3 separate regions of the Homo sapiens genome follow, and regions 1 and 3 are each linked to region 2. The links are contacts of gene promoters, found by promoter capture Hi-C in blood cells and fetal thymus (Javierre and others, 2016). All regions are on one chromosome and are shown on one strand. The core of a region is centred on a gene start or on the middle of the fragment in contact, and the rest is flanking DNA. Distances in the headings are between cores, read along the strand shown. Region 1 overlaps GNAL (G protein subunit alpha L). Region 2 holds the start of MPPE1 (metallophosphoesterase 1). Region 3 has its middle 41 kb from the start of ANKRD62.

What was found. Contacts are between HindIII fragments. The CHiCAGO score rates a contact against its expected background, and 5 or more counts as called.
Region 1: a fragment that was not itself captured here is called in contact with the fragment with the promoter of MPPE1 in region 2 in 1 of 17 cell types (naive B cells); the score reaches 5.7 in naive B cells.
Region 3: a fragment that was not itself captured here is called in contact with the fragment with the promoter of MPPE1 in region 2 in 2 of 17 cell types (total B cells and naive B cells); the score reaches 6.9 in total B cells.

The regions. Positions count from the first base shown.
Region 1 is chr18:11,726,683-11,730,471 of GRCh38, reverse strand. All of the region lies in intron 1 of GNAL (G protein subunit alpha L), which reads right to left. Among named protein-coding and RNA genes, the nearest start is that of GNAL, 39 kb to the right of the region's middle. The HindIII fragment of the contact is 3,948 bases long and covers 1-3,490 here.
Region 2 is chr18:11,907,011-11,910,688 of GRCh38, reverse strand. MPPE1 (metallophosphoesterase 1) reads left to right here and starts at 2,372. Exons shown (of 11, transcript NM_023075.6): 1 at 2,372-2,488. LOC101927511 (a long non-coding RNA gene) reads left to right here. Exons shown (of 4, transcript XR_007066296.1): 4 at 1-140. RefSeq lists a silencer at 1,580-1,979. The HindIII fragment of the contact is 5,797 bases long and covers 982-3,678 here.
Region 3 is chr18:12,050,627-12,054,438 of GRCh38, reverse strand. No RefSeq gene overlaps it. Among named protein-coding and RNA genes, the nearest start is that of ANKRD62, 41 kb to the left of the region's middle. RefSeq lists an enhancer at 3,689-3,812. The HindIII fragment of the contact is 286 bases long and covers 2,174-2,459 here.

The DNA of each region.
Region 1 (3,789 bases), core at 267-2,766, 180 kb after region 2:
AAAACTTAACTTGGCCAGGTATGGTGGCTCACACCTGTGATCCCGGCATTTTGGGAGGCCGAGGCAGGCAGATTACCTGAGATCAGGAGTTCGAGACCAGCGTGGCCAACGTGGGGAAACCCCCATCTCTACTAAAACTACAAAAATTAGCTGGGCGTGGTGCCGGCACCTGTAATCCCAGCTACTCAGGAGGCTGAGGCAGAAGAATCGCTTGAACCTGGGAGGTGGAGGCTGCAGTGAGCTGAGATCGTGCCACTGCACTCCAGCTTGGGTGACAGAGGGATACTCTGCCTCAAAAAAAAAAAAAAAAAGTGGGAGGCTGAGGCAGGAGAATGTTGTGAACCTGGGAGGCAGAGCTTGCAGTGAGCCGAGATAGCGCCACTGCAGTTCGGCCTGGGCGAAAGAGCGAGACTCTGTCTCAAAAAAAAAAGAAAAGAAAAGAAAAGAAAAACTTAACTCTTTCAACCCATTGCCAACTAAATAAAGAATCCCTAAAACCCACCTATGACTTGTAAGCCTCTGCTTCCAGATGTCTCGCCTTTTTGGGCCAAATTAATGTAGAATTTCCATGTGTTGCTTTATGATTTTACCTGCAACTCCAGTCTCCCTAATGTGTAAAATCAAGCTGTAACCCAACTGCCTCGGGGCGACTTAATCAAGGCTTCCTGGGTTTGTGTTTTCTGCCAGCCGCGAGCAGCCACATTGGCTCAGAATAAACCTCTTTATTAATAAAATATTTTACAAGGTTTGGTTTTCCTGTTTACAGCATTTTATGCCAGATTCTGCTGGGTGGTGTGGAGGATACAGAAATGAATCAGAATGGATATGGCTCGCACAGAATATATAATCTGCTAATGCATTTAAGTGAAACTTACAAATATCTACAATAAAAGGTAATGAGTATTATGAAGGAAGTACATAATAAAACGAGTGGAAACTTAAGGAAGAGCACTTCCAACACAGAGGGTCAGAAAATGTTTCAAAGAGGAGGTAACACTTGTAATCGACCGTTAAATCTGGAGAGGATCTGGCTACTTAGGAGTGTGGGAGAGGGATTCCAAGGGCAGAGGAAGCCGGGGAAGCTCTGGAATTGGTGAGCAGAGAGCATCCTCCAGCTGGTTCACTGTGCTTAGGGAAGGCAGAGTGGGCAAAAGAGTGAAAACCCACACAGGTGGGGCAAGAGGAGCGCTAAGACCACTGCTCCATAGGCAGGAAGCATGTTTTCCTTCTAACCGCTCAGGAAAAAAATGTCCCCTTTCTCTTTGATGGAAGATGTTGTACCCAACACATCTATGAACCTATGATCTCACAGTCTTCATATTCTAAATGTTCAGTTCCAGGATTTTAGAAATCTGGGTTAACTATCTCGTTTGCGGCCAAATACCAAATCATCAATAAAAACACCAAAGAGCAAATCAAAAATATGATGCTGGAGATCCCTTCCCCACCCAAATGGCTCTGATGTTTCTTGGAGACTTTATCTACTAACCAGTACTAACTCGTCCATCCCATCCCAGTGTGTTTAAACTCTCAGAGCTTTGAGTGATTTCTCCCAAGAGGAGTCAGCCTTTCATCAGCAGGCTCCCAAGGAAACAATTTGTTTTCAAAATGTATAAATGTCTTTTGCTTGCAATATTGATTTGTATTACACAATATAAAACTCATCGTCTAAGACAGGAATCCAGGAATATTACATTTTCTTACAGAGATGTAGCAAATATCTGTATTTCTGTCTGTATCATCACTGTAAGAAAATAAAAGAACAATGTGAAGGAATCAATGTCTGTGCAAAGACTGAGGGTGAAATGAAGTTCAGAAATAATTGTAGAAACTATTAAGCAGATTTATCTTAAAAAGAAACTTTGAGGTTTGGGACAAGAACAAACACCTGTTAGAAACAATTCTAAGCTCCCGCCTGAGTTGTCCAACTCAGAATTGCAATGAGCCCCCAGAGCCTCTCTCCACTGTGCTGCTGAGACTTGATGAAGGTGGAGCTCCTGGAAGCAAGTGTAAAAATGCAGCCAGAAGAGGGCAGAATCAAGACAGGGGAGAGAGCTTACATGACACTGGCTGTGAGAGCAGGTGGACTTCCAAAAGTAAATAACTTTTGCCTGAAGAATGTGAGTCCTTTTAAATCATCAGGCTCAGAGAGACATTAAAATGAGACAACAATCATGCCTTACTCCCCCCACCCCACCCCCTGCTTGCACTACCATTTTGAGCTATGTATTCATCTTTTGTTGCTGTTGTTAATTAAAGACATAGGGTCTTACTCTGTTACCCAGGCTGGAGTGGAGTGGTGTGATCACAGCGCACTGTGGCCTCAATCTCCTGGGCTCAAGGGATCCTCCTGAGTAGCTGGGACCACAGGCACAGATCACCACACCCAGCTAATTTTTTGATTTTTTATAGAGACAAACTCTGCCTATGTTGCCCAGGCTGGTCTCGAACTCCTGGCCTCAAGTGATCTTCCTGCCTCAGCATCCCAGATTGTTGGGGTTATAGGCACGAGCCATCATGCCAGCCTGTATTCATCTCTTAAAACTGCCTTCTGTTGCCACAAATAGCTATAAATTAACTTAACAATGCCACACTGGACACCATAGCCCACACTCCATAGGTTAAAATGTATAGCCAGTTACTAATCAATGTTACTTCTGTAAACGAATGAAAATTCCTGACAAATAATTTTGTATCAGACTACTCTCTTTCCCCACTTTTTGCCTTTAAAACCCTGATTACCTGAGTCAAAAAAACTCCTCCTCTCTACCTTACACTTGTTTGAGTTAGAATTCTACCATTTACAATGGAAAAGGGTCTGGATTAAAACAAGAGATGTACAATATCCTTATACAATTGGCTCAATAAATGCCTCCACATCCGACATTCTGCCTTTGAGTTTCAGGCTTATCATTTCCGTTTGGGGTCCCGGTTTAGGCAGAAGATGAGGGGAGCAGAAGCTGCAGCCCATCCGTTACTGGAACAGCTAGGACCACAGGTGGGCACCACCATGCCCAGGAAATTTTTTATTTTTTGTAGAGAGGGGTCTCTTGCCCAGGTTGGTCTCAAACTCCAGGGCTCACATTTATTTGAAAAGGTAGCTGGTAGATAAAGAAATAAAAAGACGGCCCAGGGACAGGGTCTGGGGCTGCTACCCCACAAGGCAGGTGGGAAAGTGTGGGGACTCCCAGGCTTGGGATGCCTGACACCCTGCGGCTCCGCCCAGATGGAGAGCAGCAGAGAAGCTGGCAGAGAGGGTGCGCAGGGAAGCTGCTGAGCCTAGGGAAGGGCCTTGCAGGGCTGGGCAGGGTGGTAGTGGGGACCCAGTGAGAGCAGAGGGCACAGGGTGTAAGCAGGGAAGGGCCCACACTGAACAGCAAGGAGGGAGGGGCACCCAGCGCGGACTAGGGCTGGGGGTGTGGAGGACGCACACAGAGGCTGCTACTGAGGACCCCAAGCAGCCTGGTTCCTGGTGTCACTAAAGAAAGCTTTGCTGGCTGATCTCAAATGTTTTCTAACCTTAAGAAAAAAAAAAAAGACTACTTTTCCTTACAACCTGTCCCATTCTGTCCAACCAGCACAGGCTTGATTTTATGTCTTAAACACTGGGGTTTTGGCTAGGATTCATTTTGATTATTTTAAAACAAACAATGAAGGCAGTGTGATTTTGTTGTGGAACTTAACACTACCTGTCTGTTTTTGATGGTGAATCTCATGCTTTGACTCATGGTTACGTAATTCTATTAGGACATGGTTGATTCAGGCATGGGAGGGTATTAACAGAGCAAC
Region 2 (3,678 bases), core at 1,123-3,622:
TAGCACAATGCCCATGTACCCATCTCCTTGCTTAAACATTAAACACTTTGCCAATATTGTTTCTCCTATCTCTCACTTTGTTCTCTAAAAAACTCCAGGAATTTGTTATTAAATTTTATTAAAGCAAATCCCAGAAATAATATAATTTGCCTGTAAATATGTTAATATGTTTCTCTGAGGCCTTTAAAAATCATAGCCACTATGGTATTATCGTAATAAAATTACCTGAAGTTATTTAATGTCACCTAACATTCAGTCCATGTTTAAGTTTCCCAATTTTTTTTTTTTTTTTTGAGATGGAGTCTCACTCTGTCGCCCAGGCTGGAGTGCAGTGGCGTGATCTGGGCTCACTGCAAGCTCTGCCTCCCGGGTTCACACCATTCTCCTGCCTCAACCTCCCGAGTAGCTGGGACTACAGGCACCTGCCACTACACCCGGCTAATTTTTTTTTTTTTTTTTTTTTTTTTAGTAGAGACGGGGTTTCACCGTGTTAGCCAGGATGGTCTTGATCTCCTGACCTCCTGATCTGCCCGCCTCGGCCTCCCAAAGTGCTGGCATTACAGGCAAGAACCACCGCGCCTGGCCGCCAATGTTTTTAAAAATGCCATTTATTTATGTAAAAGTTTGTTTGTCTTAATCATGACCCAAACAAGGTCCACAAATTGCATTTGGCTAATGTGTCTCTCAAGGTCCCCCCACCCTCTTTTTTTTAAAGACATGGGGGGTCTAGCTGTGTTGCCCAGCCTGGAGTGCAGTGGCTATTCACAGCTGTGATCATAGCTCACTACAGCCTTGAACTCTGGCCTTAAGCAATCCTCCCACTTCAGCCTCTGAACATTTATTTTTGAAAAAAGAAATTGGGTCATTTGGTTTGTAGAATTTCCCACATTCTGGATTTGGCAGATTACTTCCTGGTGGTGTAATCTAATGGGTTCATTTGGCCCCTGTATTTCCTTTAGCCTGTGATTAGTGTTATAAGCTTAACTGGTTCTAGTTTCCCTTTCTTTGTTAGTCAGAGAGAATACTTTAGAGGTGAGGCTGCAAACAATCCACGGTGCCATATTAGTGTGTTTATGGAATCAGGCTGTCCCAGTTTCGATTATGTCAAAGTTGTTCACCTGATCATATCTGAAGATATTACAATATTCTTAATAATAATAACCATTTACCGCATACTTATTGTATACCAGGCATTTTGCTGGCTGTGTCCTATATAATTCCTCAAACCACATCTCCGTGTATTAACCACACTCATAGATTTGTGAAAATGTACCAGAATTGACTGGTTGGAAGGCTCTATGTGGATTATTACTCTGAGCATGTTTACTTCTTGAAATATGAAATAATGGCTCCTGCTTTTAATATACAGGCTTATTTTGAGGATTTTTTGAACGGATGTGAGAGCACTTAGAAAACTGGAACGCGCCGCGCTACACCATTAAAATTAGTAACATCAGTGAGAAAAAAGCAAGTGCATAATAAATATTATAGTTATCCTGATTGTCTCCTTTATTCATCACACACTTCCTAAGCACATCTCTGGAGGGCACTTTCCAAGGCTCCGGGGGAGGAGAGGAAAGAGGCGCAGCCAGGCCTGGTGGGTCCCGGAGGGGCAGCGCGGCGCGGGAGGGGAACGGGGAGGCACGGCCTGGCTGCCACCGCGCGCGGAACCCGGGAGCGGCTCCGGGGCTGTCAGCTGCCCGCCTGGCTCCTCCAAGGCCTGGAGCTCGGACGCGGGCTCTGGGGGCTTCTGGGGCGCGGAAGCGGGCTCGCGGGGAGCAGTGGCCGCCCCCGGCCGCCGCGGTGGCTGTGCTCAGAAGCCGGCCCTGGCGTCAGGAGGCCGGGCGCGCGGCGCGGGGCGCGAGTTCCCCTGCCCGCCTGTGCGCCCCGCAACGGGCCTTTCCTGGGCCCTAACGACAGCTCGCCCGTGCTTCGCCCTCGCAGCTCTCCTGTGTCCCCAAAATGCCTTTCCCGCGTCCCCCGCCCTTCAGCGGTGACTGCCCAGGGGACTCTGTAACGCGACACTCAGACTGCCGAGCCTGCCAGGCACTTCGCGGAGGGCGCTAGGGGCCGGGACGCGGCCGCCGAGCGTAGGTTCCGGCCTTTACTCCGAGTTGCGCACGGAGCCCCAGCTGCGGTTGTCCGCTCTGGGGATCACAGGCCGCGGAGACCCGGGAGCCACCCGCCGGGCCCCTTCAGACGACCCGCTTCCGCAAACCGGCCGTGGGACTCCGGCGCCGGGCGGACGAAGCGGCTCCGGGAAGACTCGGTCTTCCCCGCCCGCCTGAGGTCGCCGGGGCGGGGCTTCAGTGACAGGCCCGCGCGCTACCGCGGAAACAGGAAGTTGGCTGGGTGCGCGCCGGCTCCGGCTGCAGTTCCCGGGTCCCTCGGCCACCGAAGCCACCCTGCCCTGGTGAAAGGGCTCCCGCACCGCCCGGTGCTCCCCATCTGCCTGGCGTTGTGCGCAGAGCTGGAAAGCATGGCTGTTGTATGTATTCTTGCGCCCGTGTGACAACATTTAAACTTCTAAAAACGGAACCTCCTTCCGTGTTAGGATTGCAAGTTAACCTAGGAAAAACAGCATTCTGCAAATTATTTGCTGGAAAATCTCGGTGACTTAAGGCCCATGTATTACTTTGCAGGGGTCTCTCACTCTAGTTTGCTGGTGTAGATTTTTTAAAAAATCCATCTTATCAAAAAATACCGTTTAAGGTGGAAAATTTCAAATGCAAGTCGCAGTTGATGAGATTGCAATTAATATATTTAAGATAGTGAATTAGAGAAAAACTACAGGTCAGTGCATATTAAGTATTTTTTTCATATTTTGGGGGGATTAGATTTTTAACGATAACTTTGAAGTTAAAAATTAAAAGATAGGCTGGGTGCCGTTGCTTAGGCCTGTAATTCCAGCACTCTGGGACGCTGAAGTGGGAGGATGGCTTGATCCCAGAGATGCGAGACCAGCCTGGGCAACATAGCAAGTCCCCCGCCCCCACCATAACAACAAAAGTACCAAAAAAAAAAAAAAAAAAAGCCAGGTGTAGTGGCACGCACCTGAAGTCCCTGCTACTCGAGAAGTTGTGGGGGAAAGGATCGCTTCAGCGCAGGAGTTTGGGGCTGCAGCGAGCTGTGACGCAGCCTGCGGTTGACAAAAAGTCAAAACTCTATAAAATATTTGAAGGGATTAATTCTGAGCCAAATATGAGTGACCATGGCTGGTGACACAGCCATTTGGAGACCCTGAGAACGCGTACGCAAGGTGGTCGGGGCCCAGTGTGGTTTTATGCATTTTAGGGGAGCCATGAGTCATCAGTCAAATACATGTAAGATTAAGATGTACATTGGTTCGGTCCATAAAGGTATGACAGCTGAGGAGGTGGGTGGGTCGGGGGTTTCCGGGTTATAGGTAGATTGAAAATTTTCTGATTGGCATTTGGTTGAAAGATTTATTATCAATGGAAAGGAATGTTTGGGTTACAATAAGAGGCTGTGGAGACTGAAGTTTTATCATGCAGATGAAGCCTCCAGGTAAGTTAAGTGTCCAGCATGTTAAATGCTGGTCTGCTTTTCCTGAATTCTAAAAGGGAGGAGGATGAAATGTGTCAAGTTCCACCCCCACTTCCCATCATGGCCTAAACAAGTTTTGCTTAAAACAACCTAAAACAAGGTTAACTCTGG
Region 3 (3,812 bases), core at 1,067-3,566, 140 kb before region 2:
ACCACTAAATTATCAATGTCTCTCAAATCCTTATTTTCATTCTTGATCTCCATATTATGCTTCGAATTTAGTATATTTAAGACCCATCTTGCTGGAATACTGTGTTTAATCTATTTTTCCCTGATTTTCCTGGCTTACTTTGTGACTCTAGTATCTGAGCCACTGTTCATGGGGATCACCTGAGGAAACATTTTTTCCTCTCCATGAATTGGTTCCCACGTTTTGCTGCTCTCTGTCTTCTATTATCAGTGCCCTATTTTCATCCCAGTTTCAACTACAGTAGTTTATGTAAAGGGTCTTGTTTTATACTTTATCTATTCCCTCCTCTCTCAAGAGAATTGCTTCTATAGAGGAAACCTGGCAATGTGATTTCATTCTATGCTTACGTCTCACCTTCTGCTCTCCATTTTCCATAGCAGTGATCCCTAGAAGAGGCGTACACTTAGAGGATCTTCAGAAAGATCCAACTGGTCATCTCCTATATACTCTGCAGAAATTTCAAGTATAACAGTTCAAAAATCTTTCCATTTTCTACACATCCTTATTGTCTCTGAATTAAAGGATTAGAACCCAGAATACATATTGCAATAAAATAAATAAAATATTAGGCTGTTTTCTTCATTTTAAAATCCAAATAAGAATTATTTATAATAAATGAATTTATTATTTATTTTTATAATTTTTAAATATAAATCTGTAATGCTGAATAATATTCTAGAAAATAGTAAATGATCAAATGCTTTGGAGTCTGTTGCTCTGTAGCCCATTCCCTGAATACTTCCCTGGCCATTTTTCTCATGAAGGCACCAGGCCATATTCTCATCTCCTGTGCTGTTTGCCCTTTTGCTAATTTTTTACGTGCTGGAGGCCCCCACCTTTGCCTGTGCCATGGCTCTGTGCTTATGAAGGACACAGCATACTAATACTTCAACCAACAGCTGTGCTTCCTCAGTGAAGCTCAAAACAGAACCAACTTACTTCCTTATTTATAGAATTAGCCAATCTTCTGTGTATTTTCACCATTGTAACATATTTTCTTACCAGACTTTATGCTCCATGAATACAAGAAGGTTTTTAGTAATCTTAGTATTTCCAGAAATTATAATCGTTTCAGGTATGTTGTGCAGACTTGATAATTTTTTGCCTCTAAATGAATTCACAGAAGTAGCACTAAACACATAAACAGATGTTCATGTATATTAAATGTTCTGTGGTTTTAAAGACTATTAAAAAAAATAAAGCAAGATTAGACTGAGTGGGCTTCTTGAAGGAATAGTCATGGGAAACTTTACTGAGATCAACAGAAGAGCAGAAATTTGACTGAAATGACTGTGAGACATGAGGATTCTGCCTCTTTTTAGCAGGGGTAACAGCAGCTGCTAGCCATGGGCAGGAATGTGCTTGGTGGTTTTGAGGAATAACAAAAAAAGTCGCAGTGGCTGAAGGGAGAAGGCAGGAGGTGATGTCAGGAGGCAGTAGACTCCAAAGGTGAGCCTATCGTAAGCTTTATTCAGTAAATTCATTTTATTCTTAATTTAGTGGTAGATTTTCAACAAATGAGCAACGTCTGGTTTATGTTTGTATGGGAGTTTTCTCTATATTTCTGTATATTTTCTCTATAGAGAAAATACTAGGCAGGGCATAACATATAGAGCTCATTAAGGAGCTGTGGTCGTTTCCCTCCTGAGTGATTGTGGTGGCTTGGACAAAACCGAAAGGCCTAAAGGGAATGAGACGAGATTTGATTCTCTCAATATTTAGAAAGTGGGGTGATAACCATATAACGAATATTTGTAACATCAGAGTACCAGAAGGAAAGGAGAGAGGTATTTAAAGTATTTTAAAAAATAATGGCTGAAAATGTCCCAAATTTAGCAAAAGTTATGAAACTACACATTCAAGAATCTGAGATAACATCAAATAAGATAATTTTAAATAAATCCATGGTGAAGGCAAATCATAATTAAATTTTTGAAAACTAAAGACAAAATCTTCAGAGTAACCAGAGATAAATAACACATTCCCTACATAAAAGAATGGCAGATTTCTCATCTGAATCCATGGTGGCCAGAAGGAAGTGTAGGACATTTTCTCAGATACTGAAAGAAAAGAACCATAACAAAATTCTCTATCTTTTGAAACTATATTCATGAACAAAGGGAAATAAAAAGCTTACCAGACAGGAAAACTAAGAGAAAATGTTGCTAGCAAACCTACCTTTAAAAAGATGACTAGAGGAGGTTCTCTAAATAGAAAGTATATAACGCAGGAAGGCTGGGAACACAGGAAAGAAAGAACATTGGAGGTTGGCAGAAATAGGGGGAAATGTAATAGAATCTGTTTCTCATGAGTTTCTGACATCATATTTGATGTTTGGAGAAAAATGCTCTGTATGTAGAGGAAATACTTAATTCTATTTAAAAGGGGGGAGGGTAAAGGGATCTAAGTAGAATGAAGCTTTCTACATTTCACTTGAAGTGGTAAAATGCTGACTAATAGACTGTGATAAGTTACATATGCACACTTTAATATCTAGAACTGCTAAGAAAACGATAAAGAGTATTGTGCTTAGAAACACTGCAAATAAACAAGATGGAATCTAAAAAATGTTGATATAACCAACAGGAAAATAAGAAAATGGTAATAGATGAATGAAAAACCGAGAAAACAAAACAAATAAAATAGCAGCCTAACATAGCAATATTTATCTTAAATGTAAATAATCAATGTGTATCAAAATACAAATTGACAGAGTGGAAAGAACAAGAAACATAATTCTAAAATATTTATAGGAAATTCATAACATAGTTAACAACATGAGTTGATAAAGAATAGAAAAAGATATACCATACAAACATTATTCAAATCAAAGTAAGAGTGGCCCCATTGATATCACATAAAGTCGACTCTAGAGCAAAGAAAACTCGTGGGCAAAAAGATCACTATATAACGATAAAAGTATCAATCCAACAAAAATGCAGTTATCCTAAATATGTCCCCACCAAACAAAAGAACCTCAAAGTACACAAAATAAAACTGACTGAGCTGAAAGGAGAAATAGGCACATTTTAAATTCTAGTTGTAAGTCTGACCACCTCACTCTCAGCAGTTGGTAGAATCACTAGGCGTTAAATTACTAGCAGACATAGAACAGGAGAGCACCATCAACCAATAGGGTAGAAGCAACATTTACGGAACAGTGCCCAACAGCAAAATATACACTTTTTCTCAAGTGCTCATGGACTATTCAGGAAGATAAACCATATCCTGGGCCATAAACCAACCTCAGCAGGTATAAAAGAACTGAAATCATTCCGAGTGTGTTTTCTGGCCATAATGAAATGAATCAAACTATGAATTAATTCATAGTAGAAAGACAACAGCAAAATATCCAACCACTTGGAAATGAAACAACAGACTTCTAAATAATATTTGGATCAAAGAAAAAGCCTCAAAATAAATTTTAGAAATTCATGGAATTGAATAAAGCCCTGCTGATAGGGAAATTAACAGCACTAAATGTTAACCTCAGAAAAGAGGAAAGGCCTCAAAACGATAATTAACTTTCTACTTCAAGAAACTAGAAAAACAAGGAGGGACGGGACAAGGTTGTGGCTGATCCCAGAGAGGTAGTGGCAGCCACCGAGGCAGAAAGTGGGACTGGCGCACACCCTGAGCACATCGCAACCCCTGTGCACCCAGCTGTGAACCGGGGGAGCCAGATCAGAGGCCGGTGCCAGCTGGGCCAACTCCAACAAGGACACATCCCTAGCTGTGGGTAGTAAGTCCAGTTATAAATTTTTCTCCCTTCT